Regions from separate parts of the Homo sapiens genome. Here region 2 is linked to region 1. The links are contacts of gene promoters, found by promoter capture Hi-C in human tissues and cell types (Jung and others, 2019). All regions are on one chromosome and are shown on one strand. Each heading gives the region's core, a stretch centred on a gene start or on the middle of the fragment in contact. The rest is flanking DNA. Distances are from core to core; before and after follow the strand shown.

What was found. The method cuts DNA at HindIII sites, captures the fragments that hold promoters and counts their contacts. A contact is called where the count stands out against the background at its distance.
Region 2: a fragment that was not itself captured here is called in contact with the fragment with the promoter of MAP3K7 in region 1 in 1 of the 25 tissues and cell types used here (mesendoderm cells).

The regions. Positions count from the first base shown.
Region 1 is chr6:90,585,306-90,588,518 of GRCh38, forward strand. It overlaps MAP3K7 (mitogen-activated protein kinase kinase kinase 7), which reads right to left and starts at 1,767. Exons shown (of 17, transcript NM_145331.3): 1 at 1,459-1,767. The coding sequence starts at 1,578. LOC124901363 (a long non-coding RNA gene) reads left to right here and starts at 1,489. Exons shown (of 2, transcript XR_007059680.1): 1 at 1,489-2,650. RefSeq lists silencers at 1,587-1,706, 1,703-1,899. The HindIII fragment of the contact is 6,191 bases long and covers 1-3,213 here.
Region 2 is chr6:91,497,629-91,500,890 of GRCh38, forward strand. No RefSeq gene overlaps it. Among named protein-coding and RNA genes, the nearest start is that of MIR4643, 22 kb to the right of the region's middle. The HindIII fragment of the contact is 5,415 bases long and covers 1-3,262 here.

The DNA of each region.
Region 1 (3,213 bases), core at 517-3,016:
ACTTTATGTGATAAAACATATATAATTCAGTAATCCATTACTCTTCCAAAACATGCACAGGAAAAAAAATTTATTTGTTGAACGTTATCTCACTACTTTGAACTTGCTGACACTTAAAAATAATTTTAGAATTTTAAAGTAGACATAACTCGTTGACAATCTATAATATTTCACTAGGTTTTTCATGGACTATATAACGCAAAGTGCTTAATAAATTTAAAAAATGGCAAATAAATGGTAAGAGATAGTATTTTCAACCAAAGTTTTTAACAAGTTCTAAAGTGTCTTTAAAAAATATATATGCAGTTTTTACTTTTCTAAATTTTATAGTCATTAGAACCCAATTTACCTGTTAATTTGAAAAACGACGCTTTAAAGTCACTTTGAAATATCTTGTTCTAAAATAAATTACTGCAGAATAAAGAAAGGATATGGGTTTTCTGATAGCGATTTCTAGTCTAATATTATATTCTGATTGTCACCGAAATCATTCGTTATCTCTTCAGAATATGCTACTTGAAACATCTTTTGATCGTAGACCAGTCTATGTTACTTATGGTGAAATTCACCTACATTAGCCCAACTGAAAGCCGAGCATTTAAACATTACGAGTATTGCTGTGCGGTATCGGAGAAATTGAGAACCATTCGGTGCTAAGGGAAACACTTTATTAGACTTGATGATCTACTAATTTAACAAGCATTTATTGAGCATCCCCTACATGCCAGGTACTGAAGTAGAAGTCGAATATAATACAATCTTTGGCCATTAAGAACATTACGTCCGGCCGGGCCCGGTGGCTCACGCCTGTAATCCCAGCACTTTGGGAGGCCGAGGCGGGTGGATCATGAGGTCAGGAGATCGAGACCATCCTGGCTAACAAGGTGAAACCCCGTCTCTACTAAAAATACAAAAAATTAGCCAGGCGCGGTGGCGGGCGCCTGTAGTCCCAGCTACTCGGGAGGCTGAGGCAGGAGAATGGCGTGAACCCGGGAAGCGGAGCTTGCAGTGAGCCGAGATTGCGCCACTGCAGTCCGCAGTCCGGCCTGGGCGACAGAGCGAGACTCCGTCTCAAAAAAAAAAAAAAAAAAAAAAGAACATTACGTCCAGCGGACTGAAACTCCAGAACGGCTACGATCTTCGCTGAAACTACTACTTACAGATACGAGAACTGGTGGACCACACTATCTCACCAGTTCATTCTCCTGTTTATCACCGGAATATCAAATCCAAAATCAAGAGTACCCAAGAGAGGAAAAAAGGCAGCTACTCCCGAGCAGTTGAGCTCAGAGAGTAACCCCCACTCCCACGTTACTGAGGGCTGTGGGGTCTCCCGGGTGGACCCCGCAGGGTCCCGCGAATTAGAGGGGCCCCGGGAGGCACCTTCAGAGCCGGCACCAGGCAGAGGCGGGGGCGGGGCAGGCCGGGACCGGCGTCTCCATGCCGGGCCTCGCTCACCTCTTCCACCTCGATCTCCTTGTAGTCGATCTCTTCAAAGTTGAGGACCTGGGAAGGGGCTTCGATCATCTCACCGGCCGAAGACGAGGAGGAGGAGGAGGCGGCAGAGGCTGTAGACATGATCCCTCGCGGCGCCCGGTGGGGCCGGGAACGGTGCCACCCGGACAATCCGGGTGAGACCCGCGCCCACCCGCCTCCGGACCGACCCTCAGCCTGGAGCCGCGCAGTCCTACTACCCGGCGATCCGTGGCGGGGGTAGAGGCAGCGGCCACAGCCGTGTCCGGCTCTGGCTCCGCTGCGTTTTCCGCCGACGGGCCCCGCCCACTACACTTCCGGTTCCGGGCTGAAATCGGAAACAGGAGGAGGGCCGTAAACTCCGGGGTAGGGGAGGGGAGAATTTTGTGACTTGGAAAGAAAAGGAGGGACAGGTTGGGGGTGGGGTGGAGTAAGCTAAGAAGCAAACTTGGACCTCTAGAACAAATTTCGCGAGACCTTTATTACAGGGCCTCAGCAACCGGATGATACCGCGAGAGAGGACGCCTGACGTAATTAAAGTGCGCGAACGGAAGTGGCGCGGAACATGACGGAAAATCAGTACGGTTGGTCCCTTAAGGACCAGCGGGAAAGATAAAAGCTGGGGTTTAGTCTGTGCTGCGTGAAATATGTCTTGGCCTCACTTCCTGTCCTCTGAGCTGCCTGCAGCCGGGCGAGGTGGTGTTGAACTGTGTTTTTTGTGACGAAGCTTACTTTTAAGTTTCATCCCTAAACTAAGTTGACCTGTTTCTTTAAGACGGCTTGCAAAATGTGTTTTCCTCAATGTGGGATATGGAAAGAAGCAGTTGCTCCTGTTATTTTGAGCTAGTACCTGACGCTATGAGAAATTCTAAAAGAGCGAATCAGATCATGCAACATGAATAACTATGGAGGCTGAGTGATCAAGAACAGAAGTTAATATTTTGGTGTTACAAACTTTCCACGGATTAGGTGAATAAGATATTTATAATTTGGTGTGTTCATCTCAAGTTATGGATTACGAGTGCGGGGCACTAGTGCTTTAGATTGGTAAATGAATCATCAACAGTCGCCTTGAAAATCGAATATTTTTGTCACCATTTTCAGGACATGAGAAAACACGCTGAGAGTTTAAAGCAATTATGGTCCTCACAAACTAGATCATTCTGTCCCCAAGATGGTCAGTATTGCTCATGTTGTACTACCAGCACAAGTTTTAGTTTTAAACTAACTGTTGAATTTTATATAGTCCGTTTGACATAAAGCCTAACTGTGGAATTATGTTAAACACATTTGGGATTGCAAATAGATCATTGGATTTGACCATCAAGAAGTTACAAACTCCTGGGAAACATTCTGTCACTTTTTATTCGTAGTTCTAGTGACACGCAGTGACAGTTTGATGAGTGGATAAAAAAATGAAAGAAACGATAATTTCTTTTCACTGTACACTCTCTCTTTGCATGCTCTTACCCAAGGTCTCTGTTTCTCATACTATTTTTATAATGATGACTCCTAATCTCCAAATACTCAAGATTTTTCCTGAATTCTGGACCTATTGGTCATCTCTACTTAGACAAACACCTAAACTTCAAGATACCACAGCAAATTCAAAAGTTGTCACCCACCACAAATATATTCCTATGTTATTTTCCTATGTCACTTAAGGATGCCATCACCCAGTTGGTTGTCCAAGTGAGAAATCAGGGCATGTGAAATGATGCGTGGTGCACTGATACCCAG
Region 2 (3,262 bases), core at 436-2,935, 910 kb after region 1:
CTTGTCTACGTAAAGACTCTCAAGGCGTGAGCTGTATTTTAAAGTTCCAATTGTAATTATCTGATTATGATTAAAGTGAGGAAAGATAAGCAGGCTTTGGTCTGTTTTTAAGTCAACTTATTTTGCGTGTGATATTCCTCTTCCTCCTCTTCCTTTTCTTCCTCTTCCTCCTCTTTCCCTCCTCCTCCTCTTTTCCTCCTTCCATGGCTCCTCATCCTTCCTCTTCCTATTTATTTCTCTTCTTCCTTCAAAAAGAGATTCACTAATGATTTCATGTTGATGGTGCTGGAGGAAAGGTAAATGAGGAAGTATGAAGAGACTTAGCCCCAGTCACGGGATTGGGCTATCATATGCTCATAATAACAAAGTAACCAAATAGCCATGGGTACCAGCAGCAATCTGCCCAGAATCCAGGAGGAGTCTTTAGCACCATATCTATTAAAAGCTTTCTAGACCCATGAATGCTATACTTATATCCTGGTAATTTTCTACTTTGGAATTAAGTTTGGGATCAGGAGTTGGGTAATTTGTTGTTATTTTCCTTCACATTCAAATTTATAAACACAATGATTTTTAAAATTTATTCCTTTTTTAGTACTTGAAGTTAAAAGAATTTAAATGTGTGTAGTTGGAGAGAACCGCTTCAGACATCTGTGCCAGATACATGTTAGAGTGTTACCAGTGATTCTCTCCATGATCCTTGCTTCCTGGTTTTCATGTCTTGGTATAATCTCTTCTTGCTGAGTGTTGACAGGACCTGTAACTTGCCTCTAAAAAATGGAATGTATAAAAGATGATAGAATAGTAATTCCAATGGTTACATTATTATACACACACACACACACACACACACACACATACGATATTGGGTTATGTATAATATATATTACATATACAAAACTAATATATGTTATCTATAACAATGTATATCACATATATAACATCATATATACATACATATTATATATATATATAACTGCTTTGCTGGTGGGGACTTGCTCTAAGAACTGTCTTCCTTGCTGGCTTAAGTAATAGGCTATGTTGGGAAAGCCCATGTGGCAAGGAACAATGGGAGCTTCTGGGAATTAAAATGGCTTCTAGGAATGTGAGTAGCCGCTACTAGCTGAGAGAAGCTTCAACTCATGGCCAGCAAAATGCTGGTACCCTTAGCCCTTCAGCCACAAGGGAATGAATTCTGTCAACAACCTGAGTAAGCATTGAAATACATTTTTTTTTTCCAGCTTAGTTCCAGCTGAGAATGCAGTTCAGTTGATGTCTTGGTTGCAGCCTTGTAAGCCTATAAGCAGAAGATCCAGTTATGTTAAAGCCTAGACTCCTGACCTGCAGAAACTCTGAGTAACAAAATGTGTGTTGTTTTAAGCTGCGAAGCTTGTGGTGATTTGTTACATAGTAATGAAACTAATAAATTTGTCTAAACTAAATAATTCAGGCCAGGAAAAATCCCCCTATGCTCGTATGAATATAATCATTATATCTGCCACACATACCTTCAAGTTCAAGCTTTAAAAGGCTACTTGCTGCACCACTAGATCACTTGTTCTCCACCAACCATGGCATATTTGCTCACATCTCTCTACCTGTGTTTATGAGGGCGTTTTTAAAAATAGAGTTTCCAAAAGTGTAGGACACATTTCATTTATCATAAGCTGGACCTGGTAGGTAGATAATTATGTTCACACACATAGCATTAAATCAAATTGTATTACGACTTGGAAAATATTTTTTTTTCCTCAATTTTCTTGGCATCTGTCTTAGTCCTCTTGGGCTATTATAACAAAATACCATAGACTGAAAGGCTTCAACCATTTTTTTTCTCCCAGTTCTGGAGGCTAGAAGTTCCAGATCAAGGTGTCAGAATGAACGGTCTGGTGAGGGCTCTCTTCCTGGCTTGCAGGTGGCCACCCTTACACTGTGTCCTCATATGGAGTGGGGGTGGGGAGAAAGAGGACTCAAGTGTCTCTTATAAAGGGACTGATCTCAGCACGAGGGCCCCACCCTCATTATCTCATCCCAAATTAATTACTTCCTAAAGATCCCATCTTTAAATAACATCACATGGGGGGTTAGGGGTTTAACTTATGAACTGTAAGGGGACTCAGTCAGTCTGTAGCAGCATTTTTTTTTTTTTTTGTATCTCTTCTATTTTGTCCCTGTTCTTTCTGTTAAATTGTCTTTGTAACAAGGGATGCAGACCTGCAGAACAGTCTTTGGTAGCAACAGAAACTATGTAAAATATAATGTTTTCTTCTGTTTTCAACACATCTATTTTTCAACTTCACCTTTACATTGTGCCAGGTGATACTGGGTTTTCACTTGTGGAAGTCCTAACGTGCTTTCTTTTTAAGTACATTTATTTAAAATTTAATAAAACTTGAATCATATGAAGGAAAATATGAAGTAACTATAACCATAGGTATTAACATAGGTCATGCATGTGGTCCACAGTGACTGAACTTTGAAAAACTTCATTTCCATCAAACTCCTCCTTTTTGCTTGTTCCTCAAGGTTCAGCTCACATATGGCCTTCTGAGAAAGCCTTCCTGGCCTTCTTTAATTAATGATACCCTTAGTGAATCCACAGAACATAACTCAAAATGTTATTACAGCATGTATCAATTCCTTAACATTTGTTTCCCTTGATTTATTATAAACTCCTAGTATCAAAGACCACGCCTAAATTATCTATGTTTGGCCTCTAGAATGGTGCCTTGAACATGGGAGAAATGTGTAACTCATTTTAGATAATATGTTACTATATACGAGAGGTAATACTGGCCAGTGTATTGCTTGTGTAGATAAATAAGGCTCTTCTTACGCTATAGGAACATCATATACACTATAGGCACTTCCATCACTATATATGACCTTAAGATAAAAATCATATAAGTGAATCTTACTGGTAAAGACCAGTAAACAAAAAAGACATAATTAAATAGGAATGTGCAATAGATTACAAAGTAATGTTAAATATTGTGAATTAATTTCAGTTAATTTGTCTTATTCAAAATTTTCCATTAAAGAACTCGTTTTAGTTTCCAAAAACTTCGGTTACAAAGCAAAAAGAAGTAATTACTAATCATTTATTCTGAAATAAATTTTAAAACTCTAAGAGCTTTATTATCTTTTATAAACTATTTATAGCATTTCTACTAGGTGTTAAAAAAAGCATCAGGTTCTTAAAAATTATTAATATATAATGTAGTAGTAGCTGATGAAGAATAGCTGACATGGAAAACATAAA